Linked DNA regions of Homo sapiens: region 2 is linked to region 1. Evidence: promoter capture Hi-C in 16 types of primary human blood cells and fetal thymus (Javierre and others, 2016). All regions are on one chromosome and are shown on one strand. Each heading gives the region's core, a stretch centred on a gene start or on the middle of the fragment in contact. The rest is flanking DNA. Distances are from core to core; before and after follow the strand shown. Region 1 holds the start of GUCY2D (guanylate cyclase 2D, retinal). Region 2 overlaps DNAH2 (dynein axonemal heavy chain 2).

Region 1 (4,952 bases), core at 1,436-3,935:
GGTGAGTGTTGAAGCAGAGACCATCTGAGAGATTATGTTTTGGGATTTGGGCTGGGGGTGCTGTGGCCTGAATCAGGGCAGTGACAGTAAAGATGGAGAAAGCGGATGAATTCGAATGATCTTTAGGAAGTAACAGTAACAGGGCTTGATGCCTGGAAGTGGGGGCGAAGAATTCAAGGAATCAAGGGTGACTCACACGCTCAGAGGCTTGCGCAGTTTGGGCAGTGGAGAGGACTGCTGTGGTACTTACTGAGAGCTGAAGGGCTTTTCTCTCTCTACTTTCTCAACCTCCCTCTCTCCACTGACCGACCCTCCCTCCATCCCATCTCATTATGATTCCTATCTTGTATTCTCTTCTGACTATTCCCATCACTGCACCCCTCCCCCCTCCATTGGACACCTCCAATCCTCTTGGAAGAATCTAGGGGCATCGATGGGAAATTGCAACCCCTACGACCCTTCTCTCATGCAGCCGCCTGTGAGTTGGACCTTTGTGGTGGTTAATTCACTGCCCGTTGACATCTAAATTCCCTTCTCATAGTGGTTTCTAGTCCCCCTTTGTGGCGGGAGTAAAGTTAGATGATCTGAACTGGGATTCTGGGGACTTGGGGATCCCTAGGTATTAGCTGGATGTTGGAAATACACTATGGATCTGGTTAGGATTGCCCCTGAATCCACCCAGGGAACTTTCTGCTTCTTGCAAGGTGTCTAGGCCCTTGAAAAGCTAAGACCACCAGATGAGGCCCCAGAGGAAATACCTCTGAACTAGGGATGAAGGTTGGATTGGCATCCTCCCTCCTTCCTGCTTTCAAGAACACCAAGTATTTATTTTAGACAGCTGGGAGTATGTGGTGGTGGAAACGGGTTTACTTTGAAGCCAATTGCAAAAGGTTTTGCAGTTTACAGTTCATTAGAGTTTACTGCTTGATGTTGGACTTGAGAGGTCGAATTGCCTACTCTCTAGAGGCAATCCTCGTACACTAAGAGACCCCAAGTGGGGCCAGAGCCTCTACATTACCCAGGAAACTCCAAACAGCTAGAGCTGCCAGTGGTTCTTTCTCCATTGGCTGCATCCTCCTCTCCCTGCTTTGGCTGTCCTCTCCCCTCTCCCTTGCCTTCTTCCCTCCTCCCGGGACCGTCTACCTGCTGCAGATTGAGGTCAGAGGGCAGCTCGCGGCGCTCTTGAGCCCTGCGCAGGCTGTCCAGCACGCTGCCTTCAGAGGGACAGTGGCGCGTGAGGGTGAGCACGGCATCGTGGGCCCTGCGAAGCTGGGAGCTGTTGGCGAGTGCGGCCAAGGCCTCCGGGCCTGGGGACAAGGCGTAGTGGATCGTGTCGAAGGGCAGGAAGACCAGGGAGCCATCGGTCAGGCCCAGCTCCTCTGCGGCCTCCAGGAGGTAGCGCTGCTCCTCGCCACCCAGCAGCACCGAGTGCATCACCATGATCACTGCTGCGGACAGAGGCTTGGCTCGCGGCGCCGTCCGGCTGCCGGCAGGACCAGCCGACCTCCTCGCACCCTGCAAGGGAGCCTACCTGTGACCCTGGGCCCGTCCCGAACCTTCCTCAGGGCCTCCCGGGCTCCAGACAGGTCCAAGGGCTCCATGGAAGTCACGGAGGCGACAGGCAGGCCCCGGGCCCTGAGTGCCGTGGACAGTGAGCGTCCCGCCTCCACCCACAGGTCCTGGGGGGCGGTGACCAGGGCCACGCGCGCCCAGCCGAATGCGCGAAGCAGGGCGTAGAGGGCATCCGCGGCGGGGGTCACGGCAGGGGCCGTGGTGCCCTCCGCCTGCGTCCAGGGGCAGCCCCAGGGCACCAGCGCGATCCCGGCTTCTTCGGCGAGCAGCTCGGCTGGCCGGCAGGCCGCAGGGTTCACCGGACCCACGAGGCCCGACACGCGGGCCAGCGCGGAGGACACGGCCCCCAGCGAGCCCGGCGTCCGGCAAGGCTCGGGCAGCAGCGCTACCTCGAAGCGGGGACCGCCTGCCAGGCCGGGGTCGCGGTTCAGGCGGGCGGCGGCCAGGCGGGCGGCCAGGTCCGGGCGAGCCCGAGAGAAGATGGGGTCGCAAGCCCAGGGGCCCAGGACCCCCACCGTGAACACGGCGGAGAGGGCGGGGGGCTGCAGCAGAAGCAGGAGCAGCAGGAGCGGGAGCCGGGGCAGGGCCCGGGGGAGGCGGGGCAGGGACGGAGCCCACCACGCGGGACCGCAGAGCCCGGGGTCCGGAAGCCCACCCGCTCGGCGGGCGCAGGCGGTCATTGCCGGCTTCTGCGAACACAGACGGAGCAGGCTGAGCGACTGAGACCCCGGCCTCCCCTAGGGTTCTCCCCGTAACCCCGAGTTTCTCCAAGCCCGAGTAACCCATGGGATGATTCTGCTGCTACCGCCCCCTCCGGAGGCTGGGAAGACTAACTGGGGCCAAGGACACCGCCCCGAAGCCCCCTTCTGCCGCCCCGGCTTCCCGCTCCCACCCGGCCTGCCCCTCCCCCCGTCGGAGGCGTCAGGGGTCAGCAGGGACTCGCCTGCGCCCTCAGACCGACCCTATCCCAGCGGAGGGGCCTCTGACATTTACAGGGAAGTCCGGGGGCTCGGGCCCACGGCCCCCGGTGAGGGGTCACAGGGCCGGTCCCCCTTTTGACGCCCGCCCACAGGTCTTCCTTGCCAGCCCAGGCCAGGGCGGGGGCGTGGGTACAGCCGGCCAGAGCCCTTAATCTCCCCAAGCTGATTAGGGTCCTTAATTAGGTAGGGAGGGGCGGGCTAGTGGAGGATGAGAGCCCCTACTGCGCCTTTCTGGGGTGGGATCTGTCCTGGCTTCCAGGTAGTCAGCCAGATCCTTTCCCCTCCATGCCTTCCAGCCCCCCACATCACCCTCATCACCACCACCCCTGCACAAAAGCAGCCGCAGCTTCCCCTTTCAGCCGTCGGCCACACTGCCCTGCTCAGCCAGAAAGTAACAAGTGCCTGCCCGTGGACAGCTGTGGGTAATCCGTCCTGGAGAAGAAACACTGATCCCAGTCCCTTTCCTTACAATCTTCTGTTTCCAGTTCTGCCAGCTAAGTTCAAGCTCCATCCTTTGGCTGGCAAAGTCTATATCCCAGAGACCAAACCCACACCAAGCTGACACCTGCCTTTCTTCTTTCACTTCTCTTCTCTCTCTCGCCACACTTGATTCCCTGACCTCTGCTTCTCCATGCCTAGAAAACCACCCTCAGGAAGTAATGAAAAGAGCTTTGGCCTCCGACAGACCTGGGTTCCAAGTCCCTCTTGCTGATTTTTGGACCTTGGGCAATTGCTTAATCTGAGGGTTGTTGTGAAAATGAATATAATTGCCCGGATGGCAAGAATAGCTAACAATTTTAGAGAAGAGTATAATGGAAGATGCCCTATAAGATATACAAATTTATTATAAAGCAATAGCAATTATGTATTTATGTAAATATATAATATATAAAACATAGCAATTATATATCTACATAAATATATAATATATAAAACATAGCAATTATATATTTATATAATTATATGATATATAAAACAGCAATTATATAAATATATACTATAAAGCTATAGCAATTATATATTATATATTTATATAAATCCACATTATGTAGTGACAGCAATTATATATTTATATAAATATATATTATAAAGCTATGGCAATAAAGACTTCATAGTTTTGGCACAAGGATAAACAAATGGACCAATGAAATAGAATATACAGTACTGAAACAAACACAGCAAATGTGTGAAGACGTGGACATTTCTTACCAACTGGGAAAGAATAAACTTCAACAAATGGAGCTGATTAGCCATCTGGGGGGAAAATAGAATTCAATCCCTATCTCACACCATACACAAAATCTATTCCAGGTCAAAGACCTATATGTGAAAAATAAAACTTAAAAACTTTTAAATGAATCATTTTCAGACTTGGTGGCAAAGATTGGATCAGGTAAGAATCATCAGTGGATTCTAAAGCTGGGGGAAATGTTGGATGAGGAGCAGAACTTTTGCAGGGTCTGAAAGTATCTCCCTCCAGATTGCCATGAGTTGGAAGGGAGTGGGGAATAAAATAAAAAGCAGTCATTGTACAGTGGAGAAATGGGGCAATACTTTAAGCAAGTGATCAAAATTAACCATGAGGGGCAGAGAGACATTCTTTGCCTCCAGATGTGATACCCTGAGAAGGACATAATACTACACCTATGCAGTGCTGCACAATACGTCTCGGCAATGTTCCAGCATTATTTCAAATCTAATCACAAGGAAACATAAGATAAACACTAAATGAGAAACGTTCTATTTAAAAAGGTGGGGAGGACTGCATTCTTCAAAAATGTCAATGTCATAGAAGGCAAATAGAGGTTGAGGAACTGTTTCAGATTAAAGAAACCTAAAAAGACATGACAATTATATGCAACACCTGCCCTTAGTTTGGATTCTGTATCATTGGATTTTTTTAAAGTGCTATAAGGTTATAGGGCTTGAGGCCGGGCACCGTGGCTCACGCCTATAATCCCAGCACTTTGGGAGGCCGAGGCAGGCGGATCACTTGAGGTCAGGAGTTTGAGACCAGCCTGGCCAACATGGTGAAGTCCCGTCTCTACTAAAAATACAAAAATTAGCCGCGGGTGGTGGAGTGCACCTGTAATCCCAGCTGCTCAGGAGGCTGAGGCAAGAGAATCACCTGAACCTGGGAAGCAGAGTTTGCAGTGAGCCAATATCGCGCCACTGCACTCCAGCCTAAGCAACAAAGTGAGACTCCATCTCAAAAAACAAAAAAAGAAAAGAAAAATGGTTATAGGGCGGCATGGGGTTATAAAAATGCTATAAAGAACATCAACATTAACAAAAAAATTGGCAATTGACAAAATTGGAATATCACAGGAGATTCAAAAGAGTATAAAGTTATAAAGTTAATAATGGTAGTGTAGTTATGTTAGACTATCCCTGTTCATA
Region 2 (5,500 bases), core at 864-3,363, 220 kb after region 1:
AAACCCCGTCTCTACTAAAAATACAAAAAATTAGCCGGGTGTGGTGGCGTGTGCCTGTAGTCCCAGCTACTCAGGAGGCTGAGGCACGAGAATCGCTTGAACCTGGGAGGCGGAGGTTGCAGTGAGCCGAAATCTCACCACTGCACTCCAGCCTGGGCAACAGAGCTTTTTTTTGAGACTCCATCTCAAAAAAAAAAAAAAAAATTCTCTAATTTCTTCTTTGATCCATTAGTTATTTAGAATTGTATTGCCAAATTTCCAAACACTCGGGCTTTTTCTATTTTGTCACTGTCTGTTAAAAGCATTCAAATGCATCTCTTTATGGATTTTTTGGTCTGTTTGCATTATCTGTTCCTAAAAGAAGTAAGTCAAGATCTCCCACCAGGGCTGTGGATTTATGTGTTTCTCCTTATGGTTCTGTCCAGTTTCTTTTATGGATTTTGTAGCTATATTATTTAGTGCATACAGATTTAGAACTCTTATAACTTTCTGTGTATTGATCCTTTTATCATTATGAAATGTCACTCTTCACCTTTACGATTGCTTCTTGCCATAAAGTCTGCTTTGCCTGATAGCAGTAGAGTTATCACTGTGATCAGAAACTGTGGTCTGAATATCTTCCTTTGACATTTTTGAGGCAAATTTATGGCCTTTACATAGTCATCAATTTTCCTTTTCCTACATGGTCCAACAATTTTCTATGTGTGCTTGAAAAATATGGTTATGCTTCAATTATTTATTTTATTTTATTGAGTTGAGTTGAGGTCTCACTCTGTCACCCAGGCTGGAGTGCAGTGGTACAGTCATGGCTCAATGCAGCCTTGAAGTCCTGACCTCAGGTAATCCTCCCACCTTGGCCTCCCAAAGTCCTGGGGCTACAGGCATGAGCCAACATGCCTGGCCGATTCTCCAATTATTGAGTCCAGTTTCTATAGATATCCATTAAATCATGATTGTTGATTGTGTTCTTCAAATCTTCTATATCCTGATTTTTAGTCTGTTTGCTCTATCAATTAAGAAATATTAAGCTCTCCACTATGATACTAGATTTGTCTCTTTCTCCTTGTAATTGTGCAAAATTTGCTCTACTTATTTTGAGACTATATTATTAGATGCACAAAAATCTAGAATTGTTATACCTTCCTGATGAGTTGAAACTTTTATTATTATGAAATAGCCCTCTATTTCTAGCAATGCTTTTTAGCTCAAAATCTGTTGTCCCATATTGCTACCCTAGCTTTCTTTTGATTCGTATTTACTAAAACTAATTATTTACTAATAATTATCAAATAATAGAAAAAACATCATTTTCTATTCTTTGACTTTCAGCCCTTTGTCATTAAGCTTTAGATGGGTCTCTTGTAAACATTATAAAGTATCAGTATAACAATGTATGGTTACTTTTCCTTTCTTGGGCAACTTTTTTTGTTTTCCCTAGGATCTAATAGTTTTTGTGATTTTTGTTTGCTTAGGTTCTGTTTTTTGTTTTTTTTTTTTTGGAAACAGGGTCTCACTCTGTCACCCAGGCTGGAGTGGCACAATCTCACAATCTCAGCCACTGCAATCTCCACCTCCTGGGCTCAAACAATCCTCCTGCCTCAGCCCTCCCAATAGCTGAGACTACAAGCATGAGCCATTACACCTGGCTCATTTTCACCATGTTGCCCACGCTGGTCTCAAACTCCTCACCTCAAGCAATCCACCTGCTTATGCCTCCCAAAGTGCTAGGATTACAGGTGTGAGCCATCATGTCCAGCCTGTTTGCTTAGGGTTTTGTTTTTGTTTTTGTTTTTGTTTTGCCCCCATGTTTGCTTAGTTTTTAATGTGCTTATCTCTAACTCAATTCCAAACTCTACCAGTTGACTAAATCTTTCAAACAATTTTCACATCGGGTATCAATTTCTTCTTTAAAAAGTCATCCTGGCCCGGCGCAGTGGCTCATGCCTGTAATTCCAGCACTTTGGGAGGCTGAGGCAGGCGGATCACCTGAGGTCGGGAGTTCGAGACCAGCCTGACCAACATGGAGAAACCCCGTCTCTACCAAAAATACAAAATTAGCTGGGTGTGGTGGTGCATGCCTGTAATCCTAGCTACTCGGGAGGCTGAGGCAGGAGAATCGCTTGAACCTGGGAGGCGGAGGTTGCGGTGAGCCAAGATTGTGCCATTGCACTCCAGCCTGGGCAACAAGAGTGAAACTCCATCTCAAAAAAACAAAACAAAACAAAACAAAAAAACAGTCCTCCTGAAGACTTCAGGTTTGCTCCAGTCTGGATTGGCTTCTCTCTTTGCCCAGTGCACCACCATCATCCTGTGACCTCCATTCACCAACACCCCGAGGATTACTGTAGCCTCCCCCTTGCACCAAATCTTTTGTTTCCCATCGTCCTTTTCACGATGTGTTCCTGTGTTTAAGTAGAGCACGTTTTTCTAGTAGCTTTTGGAGAAAGTAGTTGTGACTACAGGAGCACACCTCCATGTGTGGCTATTTTTTTTTTTAAGAGATGGAGGTCTTGCTATGTTACCCAGGCTGGTCTTGAACTCCTAGCCTAAAGTGATCCTGTTGCCTCAGCCTCCAAAGTGTTGAGATGACAGGCGTGAACCACCGCACCTCGCCCCTATCAGTTTCAATATCTGAAGTAAGTTTTCATGGATCTGATTCCACTGTCTGTTGTTCTTCTGGCTCCCATTCATGGTTTCTTGTTTCCTTGTGTGTTTTGTGATTTTTGACCATGAGTTGCTCATTTTCTTGGACTTTTACCTGTGGCACTTCTTTGAAGTGTGAGTTGAAATTTCATTCCTCCAGAAATAATTTGCTTTTGCTTCTTCCAGTCACCTGGGGGCACTAACAACCTAGAACTACTTAATATTGAAATCTAAGCTTGAGATTTCTTTTCTGATTACACAGTAGGATAAATGATGACTGGAAACCATGTGAGAGCTGGTGTGTGGTTAGGAAATCTCAAAGAAAATTTGGTCTTTTTCTTCCATCATCAGAGGTCAAAACAAGCAAGTTTCTTTCCTGTATATACGCTTCTAAATCTCAGACTTCTCGTTTTTCCATCTACTGGGGATGTTGCCCCTTGGGGACTGGGGTTTATGCAGCACTGCATCTTCTGTTATATCTTCAGACTTGGGTTGTTTCATCTCCTATCCTCACTGCCTTAAGATCAACAACAGTTTTCAGGGAGAAGGCCAGCTTTGGTACTTACCTGCCTCCCAGGGTTCCTGCTTTTACTCCCTACCCTCCTCAACTCCTGGAATTCTTCCTTTCTTGCCAGCTTAGCAATGCATTAAAAAGGATGTTATTATTATATTTTTATCCATCATTTTAGTAGTTTCAATTGAAAGGATCATTCAGGGTATCTAGACTACCACACTGCCAGAGAAGAAAGTTCTTATGCTTTCTAAAACTCCCTCTTCCATTCTGCTGCTCTCTGATACCAAATGGCTTCTAGCAGCCCCTCCTCAAAACTCCCTGATGAGGTGAGAAGTAGAGGCATGGAGGACTGATGGGCACGGAGAAAGTGCAAAGGCAACGGACTAGAGGTTTCAATGAAGTCAGAGCGTTGCTGCATGGATGCACTTGAGCAGGTACACTTGAGTAGGTCAGCGGAGGAGGGAGTTGTGGTCAGAGAGCAGAATGTTTGAATAGTCTATTGCTTTATAGATAAGGAAGTCCAAAGAGAGGTCAATTGACTTGTTCAGAGTCATAGCTAGTAGATGGCAGAACAAGGACTGGAAGCCAAGTTTTCTATTCCCAGATGCATATTCACATATGTGGTCAGGGAGAGTGCGGTTTTTTTGTTTTTGTTTTGTTTTTTGAGACACGGTCTTGCTCTGTCACCCAGGCTGGAGTGCAGAGGCACAATCTCAGCTCATTATAGCCTCAATCTCCTGGGGCTCAAGCAATCCTCCTACCTCAGCCTCCCGAGTAGCTGGGACTACACTCGTGTGCACCACCATGCCTGGCTAATTTTTGTACTTTTTGTAGATACAGGGTTTCACCATGTTGCCCAGGCTAGTCTCAAACTCCTGGACTCAAACAGTCTGCCCACCTCGGCCTCCCAAAGTGCTGGGATTACAACCATGAGCCACAGCACCCGGTCAGGGAGAGTATTAAGGAACAAATACCTTGCCATAGTCAATGACAGGCAGCTCAATGTTGGGAAACAGATCTTGCACGATGGCATTGAACAGGGGTGCATCAACTGAAGTGAGCTTGGCGATGTTCATATCTCTCATTGAGAGCAGCAGAACCTGAATGGGAAAAGACAGAGACTCAGGCTTGAGGAGGCAGGGCCTAGGCCTTTCACCTCCAAAGGGCTTCGGGGCACGTGCCAAGAACAATGGATACACCAGTTAGCCATTAGCAAAGCAGCGGGCAACACGGGGATGGGACGAGGTGGGAAGGTGAGAATCCCAATCTGAGGAAAGAAAGGGTCTGAAAGACTTGAGAGAAGTGACATAGGTCCAGTGACAGTGGAAGTCAGGTCCAAAGGCTGTGTCCTTGCTCTACCTCTTCATCAGTCAGATCCGGCTGTAGGCGGCGCTTCTTGCCAGCATAGCGCAGAAGGGAGGTGAGGGCACGCAGGCCAAAGTCATAGTGGTCCTGTCTGGACAGCTGCTGCACAGCCAGTGAGTAGAGTGTGTACACCTTCTTGGCCAGAATCTGGGGAACCAAAACAGAGGAGGAAACAGTCCATCTCCCCACAAATCCCTCTGCTTCATCTCAGGACAGTCAGAGACAAGAAGCCAGGTCCCAGGACATGAAGCAGCTAGGAGGCACTCTATGGATTCTCCTGAGGAAATTGTGTGAATGACGCCATTGTCAGTTAGTGATATCACGGAGGAGACACCTCCCTCCCCTAAATTTTTCTCCCCACACATCCTACTGACAATAGTCTAAGTTCCTTAGAGGATAAGCTGATTGTGAGGCCCTTGGGGAGCTCCTCTGTCCAGGGAATAATTATGAAAGGAAATTAAAATCACTGGAGAAAAGGGGTTATTGGAGTACCTTGCAGTTGCCAAAGCCCTCTCCAAAGAGAATGATTTCTGCAATGAGGGTGGAGTCAGGCACCACCATGGCAATTGGGCGGAACATGGATTTAAGATTTTCGGGAAGCTCTGTGCGGCCAGCATAGCCTGGAAAACAATGCCACTTGCTTAGAATCATATATTTCCTCATCTTGATTTGCTTCCCCAAACCCACTTTCCAATCAGTCTCATTTTCTCCCACCCTAACTCCATCCCTAACTTTCTCTCCAACTCCAAGACCACATCCTTTCTCATCTCAGCCCCAGCCCTTCCCAGTCCACTTTGGTCTTCTCTCTTATCTCTGGTCCTTTCCTTACTTTCTGCATGGCCTTGTTTCAAACTCAAATCACAGAGCTGTCAATTTCCCATCTCTCCAGGTTCTGTGTGTATAGCTCTCATCAGTCCTAATAGAAATCACAGCTGTTCCTCTTTGTTCAGTTCCTAAACCCTTTCCTATCCCTGTGCT

What was found. The method cuts DNA at HindIII sites, captures the fragments that hold promoters and counts their contacts. A CHiCAGO score of 5 or more calls a contact.
Region 2: a contact is called between a fragment that was not itself captured here and the fragment with the promoter of GUCY2D in region 1, in 11 of 17 cell types (activated CD4 T cells, total CD8 T cells, erythroblasts and 8 more). The highest score is 11.1, in activated CD4 T cells.

Annotation. Positions count from the first base shown.
Region 1 is chr17:8,000,348-8,005,299 of GRCh38, reverse strand. GUCY2D (guanylate cyclase 2D, retinal) reads right to left here and starts at 2,685. Exons shown (of 20, transcript NM_000180.4): 1 at 2,566-2,685; 2 at 1,532-2,261; 3 at 1,144-1,448. The coding sequence starts at 2,252. The HindIII fragment of the contact is 12,410 bases long and covers 1-4,952 here.
Region 2 is chr17:7,779,799-7,785,298 of GRCh38, reverse strand. It overlaps DNAH2 (dynein axonemal heavy chain 2), which reads right to left. Exons shown (of 86, transcript NM_020877.5): 37 at 5,015-5,142; 38 at 4,517-4,669; 39 at 4,132-4,257. Among named protein-coding and RNA genes, the nearest start is that of KDM6B, 52 kb to the left of the region's middle. The HindIII fragment of the contact is 1,534 bases long and covers 1,347-2,880 here.